Linked DNA regions of Homo sapiens: region 2 is linked to region 1. Evidence: promoter capture Hi-C in 16 types of primary human blood cells and fetal thymus (Javierre and others, 2016). All regions are on one chromosome and are shown on one strand. The core of a region is centred on a gene start or on the middle of the fragment in contact, and the rest is flanking DNA. Distances in the headings are between cores, read along the strand shown. Region 1 holds the start of TMOD4 (tropomodulin 4). Region 2 overlaps GABPB2 (GA binding protein transcription factor subunit beta 2).

What was found. Contacts are between HindIII fragments. The CHiCAGO score rates a contact against its expected background, and 5 or more counts as called.
Region 2: a contact is called between a fragment that was not itself captured here and the fragment with the promoter of TMOD4 in region 1, in 1 of 17 cell types (megakaryocytes). The highest score is 5.6, in megakaryocytes.

Annotation. Positions count from the first base shown.
Region 1 is chr1:151,174,069-151,178,168 of GRCh38, forward strand. It overlaps TMOD4 (tropomodulin 4), which reads right to left and starts at 1,913. Exons shown (of 10, transcript NM_013353.3): 1 at 1,856-1,913; 2 at 685-849; 3 at 323-479. The coding sequence starts at 807. It overlaps VPS72 (vacuolar protein sorting 72 homolog), which reads right to left. Exons shown (of 6, transcript NM_005997.3): 5 at 3,933-4,077; 6 at 2,236-2,963. The coding sequence ends at 2,576. The HindIII fragment of the contact is 8,410 bases long and covers 1-4,100 here.
Region 2 is chr1:151,088,297-151,091,975 of GRCh38, forward strand. GABPB2 (GA binding protein transcription factor subunit beta 2) reads left to right here. Exons shown (of 9, transcript NM_144618.3): 2 at 1; 3 at 2,110-2,277. Among named protein-coding and RNA genes, the nearest start is that of GABPB2, 19 kb to the left of the region's middle. The HindIII fragment of the contact is 4,511 bases long and covers 5-3,679 here.

The sequences.
Region 1 (4,100 bases), core at 663-3,162:
AGCCGGGCGTGGTGGTGGGCGCCTGTAGTCCCAGCTACTCGGGGGGCTGAGGCAGGAGAATGGCGTGAACCCGGGAGGTGGAGCTTGCAGTGAGCCGAGACTGCACCACTGCACTCCAGCCTGGGCAACAGAGTGAGACTCCGTCTCAAACAAAAAGAAAAAAAAAAGAACTGAAGAGTGCAAGCTCGCATTTAAGTGTCAGGGCATCTGAGTCCCTAGGCAACTAGGAGCTGGAAGGTGAGAGGGAAACTGGAGTGGGGACGAGTGAGAGACAGCACAGCCACTTGGGTTCTACGAGGCATGGATGTCAGGGTCCCCATACCCTTCTTCTCGCCTGTGAAGGGCACCAAGTCATCACGCTCTTTGACTTCTAGTGCCTGTTGCTCCAAGTACTGCAAAAGGGCCTCTCGGTCCAGTGGCCCCGTTGGGCTCTTCTTTGTCTGGTCACGTTGTCTTAGTCCAGCTGGCAGGAGCATGTTCTTAGGGATGAGTTTTGGGGAGCAAGTCAGACCTCCCCTCTGACCTAGGTACTGCTAGGGCTCCCTAAAACATCACCGGACACCTTTCCCCTGGCCTTCTTAGGACCCTAGGTCCTGTAGCAAACCCTATTCTCAGCCACCCAGAGCCCAACACCCTTCCCAAATGCCTGGGACTGCCTCTGGTTCCCTGTGCTGGAGCCCCTACCTCAGGATCCATCTCCTGTAGTTCGCAGTCCAGCTGCTCTAGCTCCTCGGGGCTCAAGGTCCTTAGGATCTCATCTTCATCTATGTCTCTGTATTTCTCCAGTTCCTTCTGATATGATGACATGGTGGCCCCCACCCCCTCCCCACTGTGTGGTACTCACAGAGCCTGGGCAACATGGGACAAAAGGATGGACAATGGTAAGATGGACAGGGACACAGCAGGGACACAAAGAGACCAGCCAGGGGGGCAGAACATTGGATTGGATTTCTTGGAGATTAGAAGTCTAGTTGAGGATGGGAAGTGGGGAAGATTAGGTTGTTTAGAGTTAGAACTAGAGTCTCCTTTCTGCTTCCCCAGCTTCCAGCCACTCTGGATGGGGATCCCAGACATCTAAGCTGGGTTTGTCTTCCCACGGTATGACAGAGAAATCCTGGCAGCACCCCTCCCCTATAACCTCACTTGTCAGTGCCTTCGCCCTAACACAGCTGCTGGAAGCCCTGCCAACACAGCTGGTCCTATGCCCAGTTCCTATTGAAAGGGGATGAGGGGTGGGGGAATAGAGAGCTTCAGGGAAATTCCTCCTCTCCTCCTCATAATCCAGGCTTTTTCCTAAACCGGATAAAAAAACCAAGGACAATGAGGTGTAAGGGGAAGAGAGAGTCTCTTACCCCATCCTCATTTCCCTTTTATTGTGGGGGATCAAGATTTCACTTTCTGTGTTTGCTAAAATTTGAAGTCTTAAGGGAAAGCAAGGGCTCGGAGCAGTTGGGGGACTTCCAGGTTGGGGGAAGGGTAGTAAGGCCTCTGTGAGTCCCCATAATCTGTCCCTTGCTTTGGACAGGAAGGTGACACCAGACCAATGGGTGTAAATAGGGTAAAGTTTCTTTAAAAACAGTGGGAATATTAAACTCGCACAATTTTGTACAATATAAGATACGCATAAGGAGCTATGCATACACACCATGCTGAATATGAAAGATCCAGAAAGTATGTGAGACACATCGACAATGTAAACTATACACAGTTAAGGGGTAGGACGGCACAGTGGCAGAAATATACACTGAGTGACAGAGACAGGGACACACTCCACATCATTCCCCATAGGAGCCACTCTTCTCCTCCCATCTCCCACCGGGCTCTCATCCATAAGCCCCCTGTCTTCCCCACCTACCAGTCCTGGTGGTCACCTCCCTTCTCACCTCCCCTGTGTCAGTAGGTCTGTCTGTTCTACTAGAGCACTGTCCCAGCAGCAGGAGGAGCCCGGTGCCGGGGGAGAGGGTGGGGGAACAGTGAGCTCAGCATTTTATTATTTTAGCTCTGGCCAGGTGGGGGGTAGTGGGAGATCACATATACACAGCCCCCATACCCTGCCCAGCCCTGAGAGCCTCTAGTGGTCATTAACAGCCATGGCATCTCTTCCACTTCCCTTCATACAAGCCCCAGTCTGAGACATATGAGTTCGACTAGAATCAGCCAGTTCCTCCTTATTTGGTGCCTGCTGTATTCAAAACAGTGAGTGTAAAGTGATAGGAAGGTCAATACAAGGATGTGTTTTGGTGTGCAATTTTCAGATGTTTATAATTTAGTTGGAGGAATGAATACAATTTAGAAAGGACAGCTCATAATAAATGCTATCGAATAAAGACCCAAATATATGCAGGTATTCAAATACTTCTTGCTCCCAACCCTAGACTGGACACCAGACAAAAGGGATCTTTCTATTTTATTAGATTAAAAAACACAACGAAACCTGTAAGAACTAGGGGAAAAGGAAAAAGAAACAGATTAGGCAAAGATCAGAGATGACAAAGGGGAGAAGCAGGGAGAAGAAACGGAACAGCAAGAGCCCCAATCAGGGCAGGAAAGAAGTTTCTGAGGACTAGACATCTCTTCATTTAATGACAATTTTCTGGCGCAAGGCTCGGGGCCCAGAGCCAGGGAGGGGCTCAGGAGGTGGCGGGCCGGGGCCCAGGGCTGAGGCAGTGGGCGGCAGTCCATGGGCAGTAATGTACTTCTTGTAAGCCTCACGAATGATCTTGAAGGCTCGAGCAGTGGCATAGGGTATGTCTGTAACAGGGTCCCGGTATAGGGCTGGACGATGGGTCACTGGACAGACCTCACGAACAGGGACTTTTGGGGGCCGCCCTTGGGGGAACCATTCCTCGAAAGTTGCATCATCACTAAAAGTGATGAAGGTACGTGAGCAGCGAGCAGGGGGGTTGACGGGTCCAGTCCCAGCATGAGGAGTCAATGCAGACACCGAGGGAGCAGGATCAAGTCTGAGGACAAAAGACAAGGAAAAACACAAAGAGCTGAGGAGAGAAGACAACAGATACAGAAAGAAGGAAATCAGGCTGGGTGCAGTGGCTCACACCTGTAATTCCAGCACTTTGGGAGGCTGAGGCAGGCAGATGACGAGGTCAGGAGTTCGAGACCAGCCTGACTAACAAGGTGAAACCCTGTCTCTACTAAAAATACAAAAATTAGCCGGGCGTGGTGGCGGATGCCTGTAATCACAGCTACTCAGGAGGTTGAGGCAGGAGAATCACTTGAAGCCAGGAGGCGGAGGTTGCATGGAACCAAGATCGTGCCATTACACTCCAGCCTGGGTGACAGAGCAGCGAGACTCCATCTCAAAAAAAAAAAAAAAAGAAAAGAAAGAAAGAAGGAAATCAGAGAGATGAGGAAAGAGAAAAAGGAGGCAGGGTGTTGGGAACATTCTGAGGAACGTACTAAGTGACTGATGGGAAAAGAAAGCTAGGCTAGAAGGAAAAACAGGAAAGAGAAGAACAGAGAAGCTAAAAGAAAAAGGAATAAGAAAGAAATAAGCTGGGCTGGGCGCGGTGGCTCACACCTGTAATCCCAGTATTTTAGGAAGATGAAGCGGGACGATTACTTTAACCCAGGAGTCTGGGCAACACAGCGAAACCGTCTCTACAAAAAATACAAAAATTAGCATGTGTGGCTGTACTCCCAGCTACTTGGGAGGCTAAGGTGGGAGGATCGCCTGAGCACAGGAGGTGGAGGTTGCAGTGAGCCGAGACTGCACCACTGCATTCCAGCCTAGGTGACAGAGCAGCATCATGTCTCAAAAAAAAAAAAAGAAAAAGAAATTGAGCTGAAGGGAGTTAGGAATCTGAAAGAAATCTCCAAGTGTTAAGGAGAGCTGTGTGAGAAAAGCAAGCAAAATGGGGCCAAGAGAACATGAGCTGAACACACAATCTCTTTTCCTCTTGAGATTCACTCACCCTTCTATGTCAACGTTCTCTTCCTTGGGGCCTGGCTCCCCAACAAGTGGCACTGTCACTGAATGATAGGTGATTATGGGCCCGGGGCACTTCCGCTTCTTATGAACCTGCTTCTTTTTATCAGCCTCGAGCCGCTCATATGTCTCTTTAGGGTCAAAGGAAGAAATG
Region 2 (3,679 bases), core at 1,010-3,509, 85 kb before region 1:
GGTAAGCTTAGAGGAGAGGTCTCTTAATTATTTCCAATGTATGCTTTTACCAACATTTTTCTTAAAGGCTAACAGACTATTGGTTTTTCTTCACTCCCTTTCTACCTCATATCCCTTACAAGAGTTTTATTTTCTTTGTCTCATCTGAATATGTGGTTTTCTTTTTCTTTTAGTTTTCCAAATTGAGAGTCTCCTGTGGATATATAGGTGATAATTGTAAGGTATTATATACTTGTGATTTTCTATAATGTTTTTTAGAGTATTTTCTAAAGGTTTAACTGTCTCTGGAGTGTACTTGGGTTATAGGCTTCTGTAATTAGCTAGAAATTAAACAAAATCAATATAATAAGAATGCATTCCTAGACTAATAAATTCCTTGTTTCCTTTTCTCTAATATGCCCTGGTTAATAAGAAATTGTCTAGGCTGAGCGTGGTGGCTCACGCCTGTAATCCCAGCACTTTGGGAGTCCAAGGCGGGCGGATCACCTGAGGTCAGGAGTTCGAGACCAGCCTGCTAACATGGTGAAACCCGTTTCTACTAAAAATACAAAAAATTAGCTGGGCATGGTGGCGCACGCCTGTAATCCCAGCTACTTGAGAGGCTGAGGCAGGAGAATCGCGTGAACTCGGGAGGTGGAGGTTGCAGTGAGCGGAGATTGCACCATTGCACTACAGCTTGGAAACTCTGTTTCAAAAAAAAAAAAAGAAGTCATCTAGCTGTTTTGTTTCCTTTACCACTGTTCAAAAAACATTAAAGAGGAAGGTGTAATTTAGCCTCAACCATCTTGGAGACCAAAGACTTTCAGAAGAAACAGGTCCAAGTTATAATGTGGGCTTTCTTAGCAGTCACAGATTTTGTACACATTGCCTAATTTTAACAATTTCAATGAATGAGTGACCTCTATTCTGGACTGATTAATTGAGAGGCCAACAGATTATTAGCATTTCACAAAAAGAAAGAAAAGGAAACCCATGAAATTAGCATTTCTATAAATAGACCTGGAAAGAACAATGTGAATTAAATTCAGTCAGGCAGAGAGGCTAAATATATGAAAAAGCAAAGAATAAACTAAACAGGCTTAAAATAAAGAGCATAACAAAAAGAAGGGAATAGAGCTCTGGCCAAAGTGGATGCTGATAGATAACTCTTACAAGATTTACACTGGGATGACAGACTTACTTATTGCTGTTGATACATCATTGCTAAATTTTTATTGCGTCTTCATCTCATCATTCATTTTGCCCTGCTTTACTGTGGCAAAAAACTTTTCTTCCAGTCAGTCAAATTTGTACCTCAAATTCCACATGTAACTTTCTAGTCTCTACCCTTTTTCTTTTTTAAAATTTACTTTATTTATTTATTTTTTAATTTATTATGAGATAAGGTCTCTCTGTGTTGCCCAGGCTGGTCTTGATCTCTTGGGCTCAAGCAGTCCTCCTGCCTTGACCTCCCAAAGTGCTGGGATTGCAGGCATGAGCCACCACATCCAGCCTGATCCTTTTTTTGTTTGTTTTAACCTTCTAGACGTTGCGTAAAGTCACGTCCTTTAGGGAATCTTAACTGATAAATCCACCTGACATAAAGCCATTATACTTAGTACTTATTCAATTGGTGGTATATTTATTTGTCCATTAGCATGTTAATTTTTTTTTTTTTTTGAGACGGTGTTTCACTCTGTCGCCCAGGCTGGAGTGCAGTGGCACAATCTCAGCTCACTGCAACCTCTGCCTCCCAGGTTCAAAGCAATTCTCCCTGCCTCAGCCTCCTGAGTAGCTGGGATTACAGGTGCCCACCACCACGCCTGGCTAACTTTTTTTGTATTTTTTAGTTGAGACGGGGTTTCACCATGTTGGCCAGAAGAGTCTTGAACTCCTGACCTCAGGTGATCTGCCCACCCTGGCCTCCCAAAGTGCTAGGATTACAGGTGTGAGCCAGTGCACCTGGCCCCTGGCCTTTAATTTGTAAATTTAAGCATTTTTTCAGTTTTATCTGCCCAACCAGATTCTCTCTTGAAGGACAAGAACCATAGCTTGTTCATTTGTATCTCTCCAGTAACGATCTAGGACTCTGCACACAGTGGATATTCAATGAGCATTATTTTTCCACAGCTTGGAACATCACCCCTCCACCTTGCAGCTCAATATGGTCATTATTCCACAGCAGAAGTACTCCTTCGAGCAGGTGTTAGCAGGGATGCCCGGACTAAAGTAGACAGGACCCCCTTGCACATGGCTGCAGCCGATGGACATGCGCACATCGTGGAACTGCTTGTTCGGGTAAAGCAAGAATAGGGGCAAGGTTATGTTGTTAAAAAGGCATCCACTTTCCTGTTTTCTTACTTAAATGGGTACTAGGAAATGACTTGGGAATGATTAAGTTTAGGACAGTTATAGCATTAAGTTGCATCTCCAGGAGTCTTCATGGCAGGCCGGGTGCCTATAATCCCAGCACTTTGGGAGGCCGAGACGGGTGGATCACAAGGTCAGGAATTCGAGACCAGCCAGACCAACATGGTGAAACCCCATCGCTACTGAAAAAAAGCAAAAAAAAATTAGCAGGACGTGGTGGTGCGCGACTGTAATCGCAGCTACTCAGGAAGCTGAGGCAGGAGAATCGCTTGAACCTGGGAGGCGGAGGTTGTGGTGAGGCAAGATCACGCCACTGCACTCCAGCCTGGACAACAGAGCAAGAATCCGTCTCAAAACAAAACAAAACAAAACAAAAAAACAAAAAAACAAAAAAAAAAACCTTCATGGCTATGAGGAGTCTGTTTTCTTATTTATTTTTTGTTTGTTTGTTTGATTTTTGAGAAGGAGTCTTGCTCTTGTGGCCCAGGCTGAAGTGCAGTGGCACGATCTCTGCTCACCACAACCTCTGCCTCCTGGGTTGAAGTGATTCTCCTGCCTCAGCCTCCCGAGTAGCTGGGATTACAGGCGCCCGCCACTACACCCAGCCAATTTTTGTATTTTTAGTAGAGACGGGGTTTCACCATGTTGCCCAGGCTGGTCTCAAACTCCTGACCTCAGGTGATCCACCTGCCTTGGCCTCCCAAAGTGCTTGGATTACAGATGTGAGTCACCGCACCTGACTGTTTTCTAATTTATTAAAACAATTTTTTTTTTTTGAGATGAACTCTCAGCTGGGTGCGGTGGCTCACTCCTGTGTCTCAAAAAAAAAAAAAAAAAAAAAAAAAAAAAGATGAAGTCTCGCACTATCGCCCAGGCTCGAGTGCGGTGGCACAATCTTGGCTCATTGTAACCTTCGCCTCCTGGGTTCAAGCGATTCTCCTACCTCAGCCTCCCAAGTAGCTGTGATTACAGGCGCCCACCACCATGCTCAGCTAATTTTTTTTTGTATTTTTAGTAGAGATGGGGTTTCACTGTGTTGGCCAGGCTGGTCTCAAACTCCTGACCTTGTGATCTGCCTGCCTCGGACTCCCAAAGTGGTGGAATTATAGGTGTGAGCCACCACGCCCGGCCCTAAAACAATTTTTTAAATTTGAGACAGGGTCTCACTCTTTTGTCCTGGCTGGAGAGCAGTGGCATGATCATAGCTCACTGCAGTTTTCAACATCTGGGTTCAAGCAATCCTACTGCCTCAGCCTCCAAAGTAGCTGGGAGGACTACAGGCATGCAGCACCATGCCCAGCTAATTTATTTTTGTTTTTATTTTTTGTAG